Linked DNA regions of Homo sapiens: region 2 is linked to region 1. Evidence: promoter capture Hi-C in 16 types of primary human blood cells and fetal thymus (Javierre and others, 2016). All regions are on one chromosome and are shown on one strand. The core of a region is centred on a gene start or on the middle of the fragment in contact, and the rest is flanking DNA. Distances in the headings are between cores, read along the strand shown.

Region 1 (5,004 bases), core at 2,102-4,601:
CCTCTCTTTCCACGGTCTCCCTCTGATGGCAAGCCGAAGCTGGACTGTACTGCTGCCATCTCAGCTCACTGCAACCTCCCTGCCTGATTCTCCTGCCTCAGCCTGCCGAGTGCCTGCGATTGCAGGCGCGCGCCACCACACCTGACTGGTTTTCGTATTTTTTTGGTGGAGACGGGGTTTCGCTGTGTTGGCCAGTCTGGTCTCCAGCTCCTAACCGCGAGTGATCTGCCAGCCTCGGCCTCCCGAGGTGCCGGGATTGCAGACGGAGTCTCGTTCACTCAGTGCTCAATGGTGCCCAGGCTGGAGTGCAGTGGCGTGATCTCGGCTCGCTACAACCTCCACCTCCCAGCCACCTGCCTTGGCCTCCCAAAGTGCCAAGATTGCAGCCTCTGCCCGGCCACCACCCCGTCTGGGAAGTGAGGAGCGTCTCTGCCTGGCCGCCCATCATCTGGGATGTGAGGAGCCTCTCTGCCTGGCTGCCCAGTCTGGAAAGTGAGGAGCGTCTCTGCCCGGCCGCCATCCCATCTAGGAAGTGAGGAGCCTCTCTGCCCGGCCGCCCATCCTCTGAGATGTGGGGAGCGCCTCTGCCCCGCCGCCCCGTCTGGGATGTGAGGAGCGCCTCTGCCCGGCCGCCCCGTCTGAGAAGTGAGGAGACCCTCTGCCCGGCAACCACCCCGTCTGAGAAGTGAGGAGCCCCTCCGCCCGGCAGCCACCCCTTCTGAGAAGTGAGGAGCCCCTCCACCCGGCAGCCACCCCGTCTGGGAAGTGAGGAGCGTCTCCGCCCGGCAGCCACCCCGTCCGGGAGGGAGGTGGGGGGTCAGCCCCCACCAGGCCAGCCGCCCCGTCCGGGAGGGAGGTGGGGGGGTCAGCCCCCCGCCTGGCCAGCCGCCCCACCCGGGAGGTGAGGGGCGCCTCTGCCCGGCCGCCCCTGCTGGGAGGTGAGGAGCCCCTCTGCCCGGCCACCACCCCATCTGGGAGGTGTACCCAACAGCTCATTGAGAACGGGCCGTGATGACAATGGCGGTTTTGTGGAATAGAAAGGGGGGAAAGGTGGGGAAAAGATTGAGAAATCGGATGGTTGCCATGTCTGTGTAGAAAGAGGTAGACATGGGAGACTTTTCATTTTGTTCTGTACTAAGAAAAATTCTTCTGCCTTGGGATCCTGTTGATCTGTGACCTTACCCCCAACCCTGTGCTCTCTGAAACATGTGCTGTGTCCACTCAGGGTTAAATGGATTAAGGGCGGTACAAGATGTGCTTTGTTAAACAGATGCTTGAAGGCAGCATGCTCGTTAAGAGTCATCACCACTCCCTAATCTCAAGTACCCAGGGACACAAACACTGAGGAAGGCCGCAGGGTCCTCTGCCTAGGAAAACCAGAGACCTTTGTTCACTTGTTTATCTGCTGACCTTCCCTCCACTATTGTCCTATGACCCTGCCAAATCCCCCTCTGCGAGAAACACCCAAGAATGATCAATAAAAAAATAAAAATAAAAAAATAAAATAAAAAATTAGTTAGGCAAGGTGGCAGACACCTGTAATCCCAGCTACTCAGGGGGCTGAGGCAGAAGAATTGCTTGAACCCAGGAGGCGGAGGTTGCAGTGAGCTGAAAACGTGCCCCTGCACTCCAGCCTGGGCGACAGAGTGAGACTCCATCTCAAAAAAGACAAATCAAGCATCAGAACCAGACTCACATATGGCAGAAATTTTGGAATTATCAGACTGAGATTTTAAAATAACTATTAACATGTTAAGGACACTAATGGAAAAAGAGGACAACATTCAAGAACAAAGGATGGAAAAAGAGGACAACATTCAAGAACAAAGGGCAACGTAAGCAGAGAGATGAAAACTCTAAAGAATCAAAAGGAAATGCTAGAAATAAAAAACACTGTAACAGAAATGCAGAATGCCTTTGGTGGGCTCATCAGTAGACTGGGCATGACAAAGGAAAAAAATCAGTGAGCTTGAAAATATGTCAATAGGAAACTTCCCAAACGGAAAAACAAAGAGAAAAACGAATGAAAAAAGAGTGGAATATCCAGATGCAATGGAAGTAAATAAACTCATGAGCATAGATAAGAGTAAAATAATCAGGAAGAGATGACTTGTTAGTATTTACTACTTTTATTTTATTTTATGACAAGATCTGGCTCTATTGCCAGTCTGGAGTGCAATGGCACAATCTCAGCTCACTGCAACCTCCACCACACAGGCTCAAGCCATCCTCCCACCTCAGCCTCCCAAGTAGCTGAGACTACAGTCACGTACCACACCCAACTAATTTCTGTGGGTTTTATTTTTTTGTAGAGACAGGGTTTCACCATGGTGCCCAGCCTGATTTCAAACTTGTGAGCTCAAGAGATCCATCTGTCTCGGCCTCCCAAAGTGGTGGGATTACAGGTGTGAGACACCACACCCGATGTACTACCTTTATTTTTAATATAACATTCAATTGTAAGTTTAGTTAATTTGATTTTTAATAATGCCTTGTTTAACAACCAATTCACAAAATCAATGAAAATTTAACAAGCTTTCAAAAGTCACTATGGATTGGCACACCACTGCTGAAACAAAGACTCATTGAAAGTATCCTATTCAGATTTCTTTTTTTTCCTGAATATAAGGCTGGATAACTATTAACATTTAAATACTGGTGGGGCGTGGTGGCTCACACCTGTAATCCCAGCACTTTGGGAGGCCGAGGAGGGCAGATCACTTGAGGTCAGCAGTTCAAGACCAGGCTGGTCAACCCTGTCTCTACCAAAAATACAAAAATTAGCCAGGTGTAGTGGCGCGCCCCTGTAATCCCAGCTACTCGGAAGGCTGAGGCATGAGGATCTCTTGAAACCTGGAGGCAGAGGTTGCAGTGAGCCGAGAAAGCGCCATTGCGCTCCAGCCTGGGCAACAGAGGGAGACTCTTAAAAAAAAAAAAAAAAAAAAAATTTAAGTTTCCATTATGTGTTGAACACCGTTCTAAGGAAATATGCATATATTATCTCATTTGATTCTCATAACTGTCAGATATTGTCATTGTCATTTTTTTAATTTAAAATTGAAAATGGAGGCTTAGTTAATCTATTCAAAGTCAGACACCTAGAATATGGCATAACTAAGATATGAGCCCAGGTCGGTGCTCTTTCTACTCACTGCCTTCTGAAGCTTACACTGGAAGACTAGGTCAAGAAAAGGTGTACTGACAATTGATTCCTCCATTTTCCTGAAGTTATTTAGCCCACTCCCACTCCAGCTCCACTGTGAACCTATAAATCCTGTGCCTCATTAGACAAAGGGAGTGTCAGTTGTGGTAATTCTTAGGACATTACCATGGTTACCAGGCACAGAGTCCAGTGCCCCAACCTGGACGTTCCAGAAGAGGCCAGGGAGGATCTGAGATGGCCTTCTTCAACTTGTATCTATTGGGATATCAAAATTCCTTTCAGAACAAGAAAAGGAACACAACTGAAGAAACAAGTAAGGGGAATATAGGGTAGAGGGTTAGAAGGGCCACTTCTTTACCTAGATGCTTCATAGCCACTTCCTAGCTATTTATTTTCCTACCTGGGGTTAGAGATTTATCCTCCAAGGCCAACAGTTACACTAGTTAAAATTGTGGAATAGGGACAATATCCTTTCAGCTTTGCTCTCCTGTCATTTAATATCCTTATTAAGACACACAATTTGGGCCAGGTGCAGTAGCTCACATGCAATTCCAGCAGTTTGGGAGGCTAAGGCAGGAGGATTGCTTGAGTCCAGGAGTTCAAGACCAGCCTGGGCAACATAGTAAGACCACATCTCTATGAAAAGTTACACAAATTAGCTGGGTGTGGTGGTGCATGCCTGTGGTCCTAGCTACTTGGGAGGCTGAAGTGGGAGAATCACTTGAGCCCAGGAGGTCAAGGATGAAGTGAGCCATGATCACACCACCGTACTCCAGCCTGGGCGACAGAGCGAAACCATCTCAAAAAAAAAAAAAGACACACAATTTGTTCAACCAAATAAGTGTATTCTTAGTCATTCGTTGGCTCATTTAACCAACATTTGTTAAGCACCAGGCTTTATGTGCCTGGCATTATGTTGGTGACTAGGGTTAAGACCTCTGCTATAAAGTGACTATCTGATGAGAAAGATAAGTGTGCAAACAAAAATTGCAATATATTGTATGATTACATTAAATATGGAATGTTCTAGAGCCACTAAGAAGGAAGTACCTGATACTATTGGATTTGGAATAAGAACGGGGGAGTGGAGGATGGGGGAATCCTTCAGAGAAGACTTCACACAGGAAATGCTTCCAGAACTGGGTGTTAAAGGATGATTGGCGTTCACTAAAAAGGGGATGGCCGGGTGCGGTGGCTCACGCCTGTAATCCCAACACTTTGGGAGGCCGAGGCGGGCGGATCACGAGGTCAGGAGATCAAGACCATCCTGGCTAACACGGTGAAACCCCGTCTCTACTAAAAATACAAACAATTAGCCGAGCGTGATGGCGGGCGCCTGTAGTCCCAGCTACTTGGGAGGCTGAGGCAGGAGAATGGTGTGAACCCGGGAGGCGGAGCTTGCAGTGAGCTGAAATCGAGCCACTGCACTCCAGCCTGGGCGACAGAGCGAGACTCTGTCTCAAAAAAAAAAAAAAAAAAAAAAAAGAAGGGGATATAGCACAGACAAAGGAACAGAGACCTAAGAGAGAACCATATTAAGTGAATTCCAAGTTCGTGGGTACACATAAAGGGTAAAGTGGAGAGGTGCTGGGAGGCAGACGTTGAAAACTAGGAAGGGGCCAGATAATTGAGGATGCTGTTAGCCATGCTAAGCATTTTAACTTTATAGACAGCCATTGAATTTTTAGTAGGCAGTGAGCAGATCTACATTAGATTCAAAATGCCTAGCCATGCCTCACACATAATAGAGGTTGCATAAATATTTGTAGGGTGAATGGATGAATAACTAAGTTTGAATAACTGTAAAACAGGAAGCTAGGGGAGGCTTTACAGGAGATATG
Region 2 (5,004 bases), core at 671-3,170, 71 kb after region 1:
ATAGCAATGACTTCCATGCACAAGGCCATTTTTATTAAACAAGTGTATTAGTTCTCTATTGCTGCGTAACAAATTACCACACATTTAGCAGCCTAAAGCAACACACGTTTACTGTTTCATAGTTTCTGCCTATCAGGAGACTGAGCATAGCTCAGTGGGGTCCTCTACTTCAAGGTCTCACAAAGCTACAAGCAAGATGTTAGCTGAGGCTTCAGTCTCATCTATGGTTGGAATAAGGAAGGATCCAATTCCAAGCTCATGTGGTCGTTGATAGGATTCAGTTCCATATGGGCTGGGCTGCTGGACTGAGGGCCTCAGGCACCTTTCCCTTAGGCCTCTGCCACATGGCAGCATGTCTTCATCCAAGCCAGCAAGAAGAGATTCCGCTAGCAAACAGAAGTCAATGGTCTCTTATAGCCTCATTATAGAAGTGCCGTCCATCACCTTCTGATGGATCAGAAGTAAGTCTCTAGGCCAGCCCACAGTCAAGGGGAGGGGATTACTCAAGGGCATGAATACCAAGACGTGGGGATCATTTGTGGCCATCTCAGGTTTGCCTGTCACAATGTGGTAGCTGTTAGTCATCTTTCAAGGACTCCTCAAAATGCCACTTCCTTCTTGAGGGCTTTTTAAATTCTTCCCCCACCCAAACCCATCAAAGTTAACCCCTCTTACAAATGATGAAACTTGAAAGTGTGCTGGATATTAGATGGAATTATGTTTAATTGTGTTAGGGAAGGGTAATGTTATTTTTTTATTTTTTTATTTTTTTTTGAGACGGAGTCTCGCACTGTCACCCAGCTGAAGTTCAGTGGCAGGATCTCAGGTTCGCTGCAACCTCCATCTCCCGGGTTCAAGTGATTCTCCTGCCTCGGCCTCCTGAGTAGCTGGGATTACAGGCGCGTGCCACCAAGACCGGCTAATTTTTGTATTTTTAGTAGAGACAGGGTTTCACCATGTTGGTCAGGCTGTTCTTGAATTCCTGACCGCATGATCCGCCCGCCTGGGCCTCCCAAAGTGCTGGGATTACAGGCGTGAGCCACCGTGCCCGGCCGGGTAATGTTATTTTGACACTAAGAAATTCCCCCTAATTTTAACATTTATTTATTTATTTAAATTGACAAATAAAAATTATATATATGTACGTAAATTGTGTACAACATGTTTTGAAATATGTATACATTGTGAAATGGTTAAATCAAGCTAATTAACATATGCATCACTTCACATGCTTATCTTTTTTTTTTGGTGGTGAGAACACCTAAAATCTACTCTTTTAGCAATTTCAAGTATAAGATGCATTGCTATTAACTCTATTCACCACGTTGTGCAATAGATGTCTTGAACTTATTCCTCTCATCTAACAGATTTTGTATCCTTTGGCCAACTTCATTTCGGCCCAATCCTCCCACTCCCCAGCCTCCGGTAACTGCCATTCTACTTTTTCTACAAGTTCAACTTTCTAAGATTCCACGTATAAATGAGATCATGGCCAGGTGCAATAGCTCATGCCTGTAATCCCAGCACTTTGGGAGGCTAAGGCGGGCGGATCATGAGGTCAGGAGTTCGAGACCAGCCTGGCCAACACAGTGAAACCCCGTCTCTACTAAAAATACAAAAATTAGCCGGGTGTGGTGGCATGCACCTGTAGTACCAGCTGCTTGGGAGGCTGAGGCAGGAGAATCATTTGAACCCAGGAGGTGGAGGTTGCAGTGAGCCAAGACCACACCATTGCACTCCAGCCTAGGTGACAGAGAGATTCCGTCTCAAAAAAAAAAAGAGATCACATGGCATTTGTCTTTCTGTGCTGGGCTCATTTCACTTAGCATAATATCCTCCAGGTTCATCCATATTGCCATAAATTGCAAAATTTCATTCTTTTTTATGGCTGAATATTATTACATAATATATATACTGTATACTGCATTTTCTTTATCCATTTTTCTGTTGATGGACACTCAGGGTGATTCCATATCTTGGCTATTGTGTGTGTTGTTTTTTGTTTTTTTTGTTTTTTTTTTCTGAGACGGAGTCTCGCTCTGTCGCCCAGGCTGGAGTGCAGTGGCACAACCTTGGCTCACTGCAACCTCTGCCTCCTGGGTTCAAGCAATTCTCCTGCCTCAGGCTCGTGAGTAGCTAGGCGCTCGCCACCACGCCAGGCTAATTTTTGTATTTTTAGTAGAGACGAGGTTTCACCATATTGGTCAAGCTGGTCTTGAACTCCTGGCCTTGTGATCTGCCTGTCTTGGCCTCCCAAAGTGTTGGGATTACAGGCATGAGCCACTGCGCCTGGCCTTTTTTTTTTTTTTTTTTTTTTTTTTTTTTTTTTTTTAATAAGGACAGATCTTGCTTTGTTGCCCAGGCTGGAGGGCAGTGGCTATTCACAGGCATGATCATAGTGCCCTGCAGCTTCCAACTCCTGGACTCAAGCAATCCTCCTGCCTCAGCTTTCCAGAGTAGCTGGGACTATAGATGTGAGCCACTGTGCCCAGTTACTATATCTTGGCTATTGTGAATAAAGCTGCAATAAATATGGGAGTGCAGATATCTCTTCAACATACTGGTTTTATTTCTTCAGATATATACCCAATAGTGGGATTGCCAGATCATATGGTGGTTGAAATATGTTCTTTCTGAGTGATACTACTGAAGTATTTCTTGGTGGACTATCATGATGCCCACACTTTTCTTTAAGATATTTTACTCAAAAAAGAAAAAAAAAAAAAAAAGGCCAGGCATGGTGGCTCACACCTGTAATCCCAGCACTTTGGGAGGCCAAGGTGGGTGGATGGCTTGAGGGCAGGAGTTCAAGACCAGCCTGGCCAACATGTCGAAACTCCGTCTCTACTAAAAATACAAAAATTAGCTGGGTGTGGTGGTACACACCTGTAACCCCAGCTACTCAGGAGGCTGAGGCACGAGAATCGCTTGAACCCAGGAGACGGAAGATGTAGTGAGCCGAGATCACGCCACTGCACTCCAGACTGGGCAACAGCGCAAGACTCCACCTCAAAAGAAAAAAAAAAGATATTTTAGAGTAGTAAGGAGAGGGTCATAGGGACATCCTCCCTTTTACTCCCAGTCTCCTTGGCTAAATAGTTGCCATGGAAAAAGTAGATTTTGCTCTTTCCAGAAGTGGTCCAGGAAGCCAGCTCTGTATATGTGTGTAAGAGGTGAGAGAGACTGAAAAGATTAACAATATCAAACTTTCTCATCTCACAAGCCTCAAAGGGCCTGTATGTGAGTGCAGATAACTGAAATCGGTTATCTCCCTGATCCTTGCCGGCATATCACACAAATGTTTGGGAGTAACACTGGGGACAAGGGTCGTCTCCCCCCCACCCCGCCCCCACACTGGAAGTTTTATTTCTTTAGGATTCTATCCCAACCACTCGCTTAAAAATCAAGTAACACAGACCTGAGGGGTAGGAGCTGGGGACTGCACCTCCCTGCTACTCATGGAGGACAGCAGTGCGAACGAGGGAGGGGCAGGAGAGGCGGCTGAAGCAAGGCAGCAGCAGAGGTAACGGGGCCACGACCTCAGAGAACCAGCTCCGTCCTCTCCCAGACCCTGGCTGGAGCCCCTATGGCTTGGGGTGGGGAGTGGGAGTACCCACCCCAGGCCCTCCCCTTCCTTCCTCAGACAGCCTCCTTGAGGGCTCAAGCCATTTCTTCTGGCAGGAGACTGAGGCACACGGAGAGGAGGAAGTGGAAGAGGAGGATGCAGGAGAGGCAGGGTGGTGGCTTGAATGAAGGCAGAGGTGACAGGCGTGGGCAAGGCCACTCCATCCCACCCACCCTGGAGAGGGGCAAGGAAGCCACACCATCAGGCAGCATGTCGGGTATGGGGGAACAAGGCAGGGTTTAAGGCTGAGCAGCCCAGGGCAGGCAGGGCAGCCCAGGGCAGGCAGGACCTCGGGCCTCAGTCAAAGCCGTGCCAGTCGCTGTGCTCCGAGTAGTATTCCAGCTTGGCACCCATGCATTTGACACCGTCCAGCAGCATGCATGTGCCATGGCGTCAGCCCATGATGCAGGCTTGCACCTTCCGCGCACGCAGGTGCTGGTGCCACCTTCCCAGACTAGTAGCATCCCCTCTTTGAGGACCCCTTCTTTGTGCGCCTAGTACTCGCACTTGACACTATAACCTTCAGGGAAGGGTAGGACGCTGAGAAGCTTCAGGTGCAGGCTGGGGACAAGTGCCTGGCGGACGTCCTTGCTCAGCCTGTGCACTGGGACGGAGCAAAGGTAATCTCATACCTGTGCAGGATCTTCAGGAACCTTGACCAGAAAGCTGCTGTCCCTCTCCTGGATGACCATGACCACCGAGTCCTGCAACTTCTCATCAAAGTGGACGTGGCTTTGGGAGCCCTCTGCATCGTGGCCTGTCACAAAGTGGATACTCCGGAATCTGGGCTTGCTGCCTTTGTTGGTTGCAGCCATGGACCCCCTCCCTGCCACGCAGCTTCCGCAGGACCAAGCCACTCATGCCCAGCAGCCTCCCATGCTCCGGGGACAACAGCAGGAGCCTTGCAGGGTGCAGCCCGGGGCGGACAGGGCAGGGACGACCGCTGAGGCGGTGGCAGGGTCTCAACGCTGAGCACAAGGAAGGGAGCAAGGCTCCTCTTTTAATTTGGTTTTCAGTCAGTTGGAACTCAGTCCTTAGTTTAGGACTGGAGCTTGGGAAAAGAGAAGCGAAGAAGAGGAAGATTTTCAATTACTACTGGGCTTGCTTCAGACTGGATCCAAGGCTCACTGCCTTTGCAGCAAGGAGCAGGAATTGCCTAGTCACGTCATGCAGTCATGTCCCCAGGAAAAACATGAACAATCACAGCTTTTCCTTTCTGGGCCTCTCCTCTTTGTTTTGTTTGTTTGTGTTTGTTTGTTTTTTTAGAGACAGGGTATCATCGCTGTTGCCCAGGCTGGAGTGCAGAGGTGCCTCGAGCTCCTGGGCTCCAGCGATCTTCTCCTCTCAGCTTCCCAATTAGCTGGAACTACAGGCAAGTG

Evidence for each region. The method cuts DNA at HindIII sites, captures the fragments that hold promoters and counts their contacts. A CHiCAGO score of 5 or more calls a contact.
Region 2: a contact is called between a fragment that was not itself captured here and the fragment with the promoter of SPMIP11 in region 1, in 1 of 17 cell types (megakaryocytes). The highest score is 5.3, in megakaryocytes.

What each region holds. Positions count from the first base shown.
Region 1 is chr12:48,724,084-48,729,087 of GRCh38, forward strand. SPMIP11 (sperm microtubule inner protein 11) reads left to right here and starts at 3,352. Exons shown (of 4, transcript NM_001351123.2): 1 at 3,352-3,476. The coding sequence starts at 3,398. RefSeq lists an enhancer at 1-212. The HindIII fragment of the contact is 5,202 bases long and covers 3,163-5,004 here.
Region 2 is chr12:48,796,649-48,801,652 of GRCh38, forward strand. It overlaps the pseudogene ADISSPP1. Among named protein-coding and RNA genes, the nearest start is that of ADCY6-DT, 10 kb to the left of the region's middle. RefSeq lists an enhancer at 4,527-5,004. The HindIII fragment of the contact is 4,501 bases long and covers 1-4,171 here.